Regions from separate parts of the Homo sapiens genome. Here regions 1 and 2 are each linked to region 3. Evidence: promoter capture Hi-C in human tissues and cell types (Jung and others, 2019). All regions are on one chromosome and are shown on one strand. Each heading gives the region's core, a stretch centred on a gene start or on the middle of the fragment in contact. The rest is flanking DNA. Distances are from core to core; before and after follow the strand shown. Region 1 overlaps RPS6KA1 (ribosomal protein S6 kinase A1). Region 2 holds the start of SLC9A1 (solute carrier family 9 member A1). Region 3 holds the start of ZDHHC18 (zDHHC palmitoyltransferase 18).

Evidence for each region. Contacts are between HindIII fragments. The study calls those that stand out against the background at their distance.
Region 1: a contact is called between a fragment that was not itself captured here and the fragment with the promoter of ZDHHC18 in region 3, in 1 of the 25 tissues and cell types used here (spleen).
Region 2: the fragment with the promoter of SLC9A1 here is called in contact with the fragment with the promoter of ZDHHC18 in region 3 in 1 of the 25 tissues and cell types used here (adrenal gland).

Annotation. Positions count from the first base shown.
Region 1 is chr1:26,560,514-26,563,637 of GRCh38, reverse strand. It overlaps RPS6KA1 (ribosomal protein S6 kinase A1), which reads right to left. Exons shown (of 22, transcript NM_002953.4): 15 at 2,787-2,912; 16 at 2,504-2,593; 17 at 1,975-2,133. Among named protein-coding and RNA genes, the nearest start is that of MIR1976, 7.5 kb to the right of the region's middle. The HindIII fragment of the contact is 8,603 bases long and covers 1-3,124 here.
Region 2 is chr1:27,153,659-27,156,475 of GRCh38, reverse strand. SLC9A1 (solute carrier family 9 member A1) reads left to right here and starts at 1,351. Exons shown (of 12, transcript NM_003047.5): 1 at 1,351-2,493. The coding sequence starts at 2,142. RefSeq lists an enhancer at 1-456 and a silencer at 1,402-1,631. The HindIII fragment of the contact is 28,159 bases long and covers 1-2,817 here.
Region 3 is chr1:26,825,138-26,828,255 of GRCh38, reverse strand. ZDHHC18 (zDHHC palmitoyltransferase 18) reads right to left here and starts at 1,568. Exons shown (of 8, transcript NM_032283.3): 1 at 1,117-1,568. The coding sequence starts at 1,451. RefSeq lists silencers at 1,301-1,510, 1,521-1,670, 1,634-1,786. The HindIII fragment of the contact is 18,291 bases long and covers 1-3,118 here.

The sequences.
Region 1 (3,124 bases), core at 157-2,656, 260 kb after region 3:
GTCTAATTGTGGAGGCGACATGGGTGTACACATTTAACAAAATTCATCAGAATGTACCCTTGAAATCTACTGTATGCAAATTTTCCTCCAGTTTTAAAAAAGAAGAAAAGAGGCTGGGTAAGGTGGCTTACGCCTGTAATCCCAGCACTTTGGGAGGCCAAGGTGGGCAAATCACTTGAGCTCAAGAGTTCAAGACCAGCCTGGGCAACAAGCCAAAACCCCATCTCTACAAAAAATACAAAATTAGCCAGGTGTGGTGGTGCGTGCCTGTGGTCCCCGCTATTTGGGAGGCTGAAGTGGGAGGATCATTTGAGCGCAAGGAGGTCAAGGCTGCAGTGAACTGCAATTGTGTCACTGCATTCCAGCCTGGGCAACAGAGTGAGACCCTGTCTCAAAAAAAAGGGGGAGAGATTTACCAACTGAATGAAATGTGTGGAACTTACAGGTATTCTAATTTCAATAAACCAGTCAAAAAAGACATTTTTGAAAGGACAATGGGGGCCGGGTGTGGTGGCTCACACCTGTAATCCCAGCACTTTGGGAGGCCGAGGCGGGCAGATCACCTGAGGTCAGGAGTTTGAGACCAGCCTGGCCAACATGGTGAAACCCCATCTCTACTAAAAATACAAAAAAATTAGCCAGGCATGGTGACAGGCGCCTCTAATCCCAGCTACTTGGGAGGCTGAGGCAGGAGAGTCACTTGAACCCGGGAGGCAGAGGTTGCAGTGAGCCAAGATCGTGCCACTGCACTCCAGCCTGGGCGACAGGAGCAAGACTCTATCTCCAAAAAAAAAAAAAAAAAAAAAAAAAAAGGACAATAGGAGAAAAATGTGTCTATGGACTGGGTACTATGTGAAAACAAGTTAACAACCTCATACACCAAGACCTGGACTCAGCCAGGTGGATTCATAGCCTGCATTCTTAACCCCCATGTTGTCTGATCAGATGCACCCTAAAACATTATCTCATGCAGAGAGAAGCTAATGCTACTGTTTTGGGCTTTAATCCACTGTAATGAACTTTCCTACCTCACCGTCATCTAGTGCTCACCTGCCTTGTGCAGTAATAAAGGCCAGACCCTGCCATTTGGACCTATACCTCTTCTGCAGTCCCTGCTACGTTTCCAGCAGAATTTCCTCCTGCATCCATTTCCTCTGCCTTAGCAACTGAACCCAGTCAAATTCACCTCCCTGAAGCCTTGCAGCTCCCCCACGGTGACCCTGCCACTTCCTAACTCAAAAGCCACTCCCCACCTAAATTCTTCAGTCTGAAATTCTTCCATTCTTCCCGGGCTATGTGATATTTAGCAAATGAACTTTCATCTCTGAGCTCCGGTCTTCTTACCTGTGAAGTGGGGCCAGTAACAGCATCTATCTCAGAGTTGTTGTGAAAATCAATTGAGATAATGTAAATCTTATTTATGTATTTATTTATTAGATGGAGTTTCGCTCTGTTGCCCAGGCTGTAGTGCAATGGTGTGATCTTGGCTCACTGCAACCTCCGCCTCCCGGGTTCAAGCCACTCTTCTGCCTCAGCCTCCCAAGTAGCTGAGATTACAGATGCCCCCCACCACACCCGGCTAATTTTTTTGTATTTTAGTAGAGATGGGGTTTCACCATGTTGGCCAGGCTGGTGTCAAACTCCTGACCTCAAGTGATCCACCTGCGTTGCCCTCCCAAGTTGCTGGGATTACAGGCGTGAGCTACCATGCCTGGTCTGGAAACTTCATCTTATGCTAAACCTTACCATGGTGCCTGGCACACAGTAGATACTGAATAACTTTCCATACCTTCCCTTTCACAATTGGCCACATCTCTCCCTCCTTCCTTTGCACGCATCCACCCACCCAGCCCTAGTGTCCCCTCAGTTTGGCTAGCTGGAGGCTGCCATTCCTGGGCCAGCAGGTGGTTCATGTTCTCTGCTGATGATATGACCCTTGGCATCCCCCTACTGCCTCCCCGAATCCAGACTCACCCCCTGTGAGTGCAGATACTCCACAGTTTTGCCAATGGTGTGCAGGACAAAGCTGGCCTCCCGCTCTGAGAAGAACTTCTGCCGCAGGATCTTGTCCAGCAGCTCCCCACCCCGCATCAGCTCTGTCACCAGGTACACGTGTTTGCCATCATCATACACCTGCCGAAGACCTCACCATCAGGCTCTTCTCCCCAGTGTCAGGCCTGAGCCCCCTGGTCAGCAGCGCCCCAGAGCAGGGAAGAATGACATGAGCCTTGGGCAGGTGTTCTGCTTGCTCTTCAGTGGTCCTGCCTTCCCCAAAAGGAGGATGCTGACACTGGTCTCCTGATACGCAAGAAGGTCCTCAGAAAATGTCTGAGTCTGAAGGAGGGCCCTTGGGGTATGGGCAGACTGAAGGGACCAAGGGACCTCCTTCCCCTCCACATGACCACTGGAAAGAGGATGAGAAGTCAAAGGAATGGCAATCCTGAGACAAATCCTGAGAGTTGAGTTCCTGGTCCCCACCCCAGTCTTAAGGACCCCCACTCACATCTTTCAGAGTGATGATGTTGGGGTGCTGGCCATACCGCAGAAGAATCTCAATCTCTTCTGAAGGATCCCGCTTGCTCTTATCAATGACCTGAAGAAAGGGGGTGCATGTGGCAGTGTCAGGGTGACAGGGTCCAGGGTCCTTTCTGGCCATGGAGCAGGCCAGGAGGTCTCGGCCACACACCTTTCATACATCTGCAGAGCTCAGGCACCATCCCTCCCCACCAGACGGGGACCTGCCCCCAACCCAGCAGCCTTGGCCGAGACGTGGTCAGGAGGCCCACCTTGACAGCATACTCCATGTTGGTGGCCTTGTGGACACAGCGCTTGCACTCAGAGTAGGAGCCCACACCAATTGTCTCCTTTACCACGTAGCCGTCACTAAAAACCAGGTTCTTCCCATGGAGTTGCTGTAGGAGACCAAAAATTGTGGCTGACCCCTGGCTCTAGAGTGCTAGGGGTCATCCCCCAGGACCTAAGGTCTTGGCTCAGTAGAGACAGCACCAGGGAAGGGCCAGGAGACTTGGGGTAGAGTGTTGGCCATGTGACCGCAGGTGACAGCCTGCCCCTCTCTGGGCCTCAGTTTTCTACTCTATATAATGGGCATACTCACTGGCTCCCA
Region 2 (2,817 bases), core at 102-2,601, 330 kb before region 3:
TTCCATTGTACAGCCATGATCCCTTGAACCTCACCAATTTCAACCAAACTATAGGTTCAAATTTAAGTTCCACTACTTAAAGCATGCCACTGTTGTGGGTTGAATTGTGTCCCGGCAAAAGAAGTTGAAGTCCTAATGCCCAGTGCCTATGAAGATGGACTAATTAGGATGCAGTCTTTGAAGATGTTCAGGTTAAGATGAGGTAATTACGTTGGATTTCTAATCCAATGACTGGTGTCCTTATAAAAAGGGGAAATCTGGCTGGGGGTTGTGGCTTACCCCTGTAATCCCAGCACTTTGGGAGGCCGAGGCGGGTGGATCACCTGAGGTCAGGAGTTCGAGACCAGCCTGACCAACATGGTGAAACCCCATCTCTACTAAAAATACAAAAATTAGCTGGACGTGGTGGTGGGTGCCAGTAATCCCAGCTACTCTGGAGGCTGAGGCAGGAGAATCGCTTGAATCCAGGAGGCAGAGGTTGCATTGAGCTGAGATGGCGCCACCGCACTCCAGCCTGGGCAACAAGAGCCAGACTCTATCTCAAAAAAAATAAAAATAAAAATAAAGTGTGGGCGGGGAATCTGGACGCAGAGACAGAGACACCAGGAGAACTCCATGGAATACCAGATAGTCCTAACAAACCACTGGAAGGTAGGAGAAAGGCATGGGACAGATTCTCCCTCATAGCTCTCAGCTGAAACCAACCCTGCCAACACCTAGATCCGACCTCCAGCCTCCAGAACTGTGAGACAATCAATTTCTGTTGTTGCAGCCACCCAGTTTGGGGTGATACTTTGTTACGGCAGCCCTAGTAAGCAATACAACTACTTGCATAGTAGCCAGGGGACTCTCTTCACCTGTTTCCTCATCTGTAAAAGTGGAATTGTAATAATGTGCCAGGGTGCATTCCAAATAGTTTACACGGATTGTCTCAGTCATTACATCATCCCTCTGACATAGTCACTATTACTGTCTCTACTTAACAGATGAGAAAGTTGTGAAACAGGTTAAGTAACTTGCTCAAGGTCACACGGTAACTAAATACATAAACTAATAATACATTCTTCACAGGATTATTCGAAAGCCCTTATGAGACTGCAGATGTGGACGTGAAATCGTTTTGTAAGTAGTCGGCATTTTACTCGCGTTAGTGAGGTTCTCTGTATATTCAGGACTTTTTTTTTTTTTTTTTTTTGTCATCTCTGACTCTCCTTCCTCTTCCTACGCGATACTTCTTTCCCTCGGCGACAGGGGCCGCTGCGCTGGGCGGGTGCCGACGGTCTCTCTAGCCCGCCGCACCGGCTGCTCGCTGGTGCCTATAAGTGACAGCGCCGGGCTCAGCTAGGCTTCAGTCTGCTGCCGCCGGGGCCGGGGCTAGGGTTAGTTCTGGAGCTGGACCAGGAGGAGCTGCAGCTGGGCCGGGGCGGAGCGCCGCGTCGCGCCAGGGCCGCGAGGAGGGGCGTGTTGCTGCTGGCCCACCGCGAGCCGCCCCCAGCCCGCGCCGAGGCGCCTTCCCGCCAGGCCGCCTGCCTTCCGCCTCTTTCCATTTCCCCGGAATCTCAGCCCGGCGCGCCTGGACCCCTGCCCCTCTCTGGGTGGAGAAGCTCCCGGCCGCTTCCCGGTTTCACTCCTTCTCAGCCTGGGCTCCCAGCCCCCTCTCTCCTTTTCCTGGACTGGCTCTCACCCCCTTCGGTCCCCTTCCTTTAGCTCAGGCTCCCTACCCCTTCCTTTAGCCCACAGCCCAGAGTCCCAGCTCCTCAGTCACTTTCCTCAGCCAAAGGTCCCAGCCTTCCTTCTTCCTTTCCTTTGCACTATCCCTATCCTGCCCCTTCCTCTATCCCTAGGGCTCAGTTTCCCACATCCGTCCTCCCCCTTCCCAGGCCCGGAGTTCCAGACCTTTTGGTCTCCTTTCGTGGTCGTTCCTGGGTCCTTGCCCCCTTTCCCCACTTTGGAGTTCCAGATTGCAAACCCAGCCTCCCTCCACCCCCAGAAAATTGCTTCCATGGAAATGCCTCTCTAAAACATGAACTTTTCCTAGAGACTACGCCAGTCTCTCTTCCCACTTGCTGACCCTTTGCTACCTATGTGCCCGGTTTTACTCTCATTTGGGTAAGGTCGAGGCTGGCTCTGGAAGCAGCACCATGGTTCTGCGGTCTGGCATCTGTGGCCTCTCTCCACATCGGATCTTCCCTTCCTTACTCGTGGTGGTTGCTTTGGTGGGGCTGCTGCCTGTTCTCAGGAGCCATGGCCTCCAGCTCAGCCCAACTGCCAGCACCATTCGAAGCTCAGAGCCACCACGAGAACGCTCGATTGGGGATGTCACCACCGCTCCACCGGAGGTCACCCCAGAGAGCCGCCCTGTTAATCATTCCGTCACTGATCATGGCATGAAGCCGCGCAAGGCCTTTCCAGTCCTGGGCATCGACTACACACACGTGCGCACCCCCTTCGAGATCTCCCTCTGGATCCTTCTGGCCTGCCTCATGAAGATAGGTAAGTCCCGTTTGCTCCGATGCTGCGGCCGCCACCAGACTGGTGAGCTTCTTGCCTCATCTCGCACCATTTGAGGCTGTCCAGGAGTAAGGATCTGAACTACCCCCATAAAGTAGGCAGTCTCCATCCTGCCACCTTGGTCCTTCTCAGGCTCCAGTTCTGTGGCTTCTGATCTGTGATCTGAGGCTTCCCAAGATTGGAGCCAGCACTGTGCACAGAAGAGAGCAGGATTAGAGAATGGGATGCCTCTGATCCTAGGTCCCTTCAGTAAGGCTTCCACGACTGGCAAGTCTCCTCTGGCTGGGCCAGACCCCCAGGGGAGCC
Region 3 (3,118 bases), core at 319-2,818:
AAGGATGGGGAGTTGGGAGGGGACAGCAGGGCTTATGAAGCAAGGGTGGGTGGGTGGGCGTGTGAGTGTGTGTGCAAGGAATCACAGTGCAGGTGGCTCAGAGGTGGGTGGAAAACTTCTAATACAAATATATGACCCTCCATCCATAAAATGGAGATTATGTGTGGGCCAATCCTGGGTCACCGGGGGATATGAAGAGGACAAAAACCTAGGGGGGCAAATATGACCTGTCACACGAAAGCACTCCGAAGTCTTTCCTGAAAAACAACAAGGCACCGCAGCTGTTGCTGATGTGGAACAGGCCAGAGGGACGTTCCAGAATGTTGAGCAGGGAAAGAAAGCCAGGTGGTCAGCAGGGGGGCCAGGGGCCTGGGAGCCGGCTGGGTGGAGGCGGGCGGGATCTGAGGGAAGGACAGGAAGCTCTGGAGAACCTAAGGAAGGTTCTGGAGAAGGAAAGGGGGCCCGAGAGGCCCAAAGATTTTGAGAAAAGATGCCTTGGGGCCTAGGGTGTGCGTGGCTGAGGGGAAGCAAAAGCGGGGTTGGTGTCTGAGACTAGAGAAAAGGAGGGGACCCTGGAGGGACCCGGAGAGGGCAGCGAGGATGACTAGGATGTTTATGGTGGGTGTGCACAGCCAAAGGACACACAAGATCTAGAAGTGGTCAGGAAGGGATACAAGGGTCAGAAAGAACTTGGGGGGTTGGCAAGAGATGGTCCAGGGATGGGTGAGCAGGAGGGGCCTGTTCAAGAAGCCCTGGGGCAGGTTCTGAGAGGGCAGCGAGGATGGGGGCCGTGGAGGGGCATGGAGGCTGGTGTTCCTGGCAGTGGCAGGCAGACAGGTGCCAGGGTGGGGTCAGGGAGAATGGAGGGGCTGGGAGGGTGGAGGGCACCAGCGCGGATGGGGTACCCAAATGGACCAAGGAGGATGGGGCATCTGGCGGGGATGGGGGTGCGCAGGGGCCAGGGGGGCAGACAAGAGGCCCGAGGAGGATCCCAAAGGGGCGGGGAGGATGAGGACCAGGGAGGCGAAGGGGAAGGCACGGAGTGCCCAGCAGGGATTGGGAAGGTGGGGTGCGCGGCAGGGGGCTGGGAGGGGGCGCCGAGGCAGCGGAACTCACTCAAAGACGAAGAAGAGGCCGGTGGTGGTGAGGATGAGCAGCAGCGTGAGCGCGAAGACGCCGCCGTGGCCGGCCAGCATGAGGCGGCCGCCGCAGTAGAAGCGATTGCGACCCGGGAACACCTCCCACTTGCGCCGTGGGCGGCGGCCGAGGCTCCCGCTCCCGCTGCCGCTGCCGCTGCCGCTGCTGCTCCAGCGCGGCGGGGCGGGGGCGGCGGGCGGCGCGGGCCCGGGGCCCGGAGTCGGGGACGCGGCGGGGCCGGGACGGCGCGCCCCCGGGGAGGCGGGCAGCGGGGCGGCCCCGGGGCTGATCTGCTGGTACTCGCAGTCCTTCATGCAGCCAGCCGCGGGCCTCGGCTCCGCGCCCCGCGGGCCGGCCGGGCCACTCCGGGACCGGGCCGAGCAGCGGAGGTGGCAGCGGCGGCGCGCGCGGCGCTCGCTCGCTCACTCACTGGGGCGGCCCCGCCATCGCTCCGCCCCCGGCCCGCCGCCACCGCCCGCCGCGGCCTCCCGCCGCAGCGCCCCCTCCGCCTGGGCCCGGGATGGCGCTTGGCCGGAGGCCCAGCTCTGACCCGCGGCGGGGCCCCGCAGGTCCCCGGCCCTCCCAGTCTCCCTTTTCCCTTCTGCACAAAGAGGGGGCCAGCAGACGCGCACTCGAGGGCTCTTTCTGTTCTGCAAGCAAGCCGTTTGTTGGGCGTCCACTGTGTACCAGGCACGGTGCCAAACGCCGAGATTCAGGTGGTGGACTTCGTGATCTACTTCTGGCAGTCTGTAATTCCCCAGGCTTCGCCCATCTCTGAGGGTCGAACTGACAGGCATTTGCAGAGGCAGGCAGGCGCGGGGAGGTGGGGCACACGATTTGCTTTGAAAGCCAGGACCTCTTCTACCTTGAAGTCCAGAGTGCCCACTGGAGGTGTGTGGCACACCCTCTGGCCTCGTTCACCAAGTTCTGTGTCCTGGGCCCAGGCCCAGATTTTCCTAGGTAGCACATAATGTAGAGGGGTCATGCCTGAGGGCCCCAGTGTTTTTTCAGGAATTCTGGGAGTATTCATTTTCTACTGCTGTGTAACAAGTTACCACAAATTTAAGGCTTAAAACAAACATTATCGGCCGGGCGCGGTGTCTCACGCCTGTAATCCCAGCACTTTGGGAGGCCGAGGTGGGTGGATCACAAGGTCGAGAGAGACCATCCTGGCCAATATGGTGAAACCCCGTCTCTACTAAAAATAAAAAATTAGCTGGGCATGGTGGCACGGCATCTATAGTCCCAGCTACTCGGGAGGCTGAGGCAGGAGAATTGCTTGAACCCAGGAGGTGGAGGTTGCAGTGAGCCGAGATTGTGCCATTGCACCCGGCCTGGTGACAGAGCAAGACTCCGTCTCAAAAAAAACAAAAAACAAACGTTATCTAACAGGTTCCAGGTCAGGAGCCAGAGAACAGCTTAGCTGGGTCCTCTGCTTAGTCTCACAAGGCTGCAATCAGGCTGCATTCTCATCTGGAGACTCAGCCAGGGAAGAATCCACTTGCAAGCCCATTTGGGTTATTGGCAGAATTAACTTCCTTGCGACTGTTTAACTGAAGAGGGCCTGGGATTTTTGCTGGGTGACTGTATAACTGAGGAGGGCCTGGGATTTTTGCTGGGTGTCTGCTGGAGGCCTCTCTCAGGATCCAAAAGCCACCTGCAGTTCCTAGAGATTATCACATTTCCTTGCCATGCAGGTTTCTCCTACATAGCCACTTAGTTTCTTGAAACTGACAATGAGGGTCTCTAGCTCCAGACTATGATGATAGAGTTTTATATAACTTACTATATATGTGACAGAGTGGCATCCCATCATCATTGCCATCTCCTATGGTTAAAAGCAAAGCACAGGAGCCATCTGCACTCAAGAAAAGGGAATCACACAAGGCGTAAATACCAGGAGGCAGGAATCATTGGGGGTCAGCTTAGGGTATGTCTGTCACACTGTGGTTACTGTAAAACCTAAGGAAAAGTGCAAGGA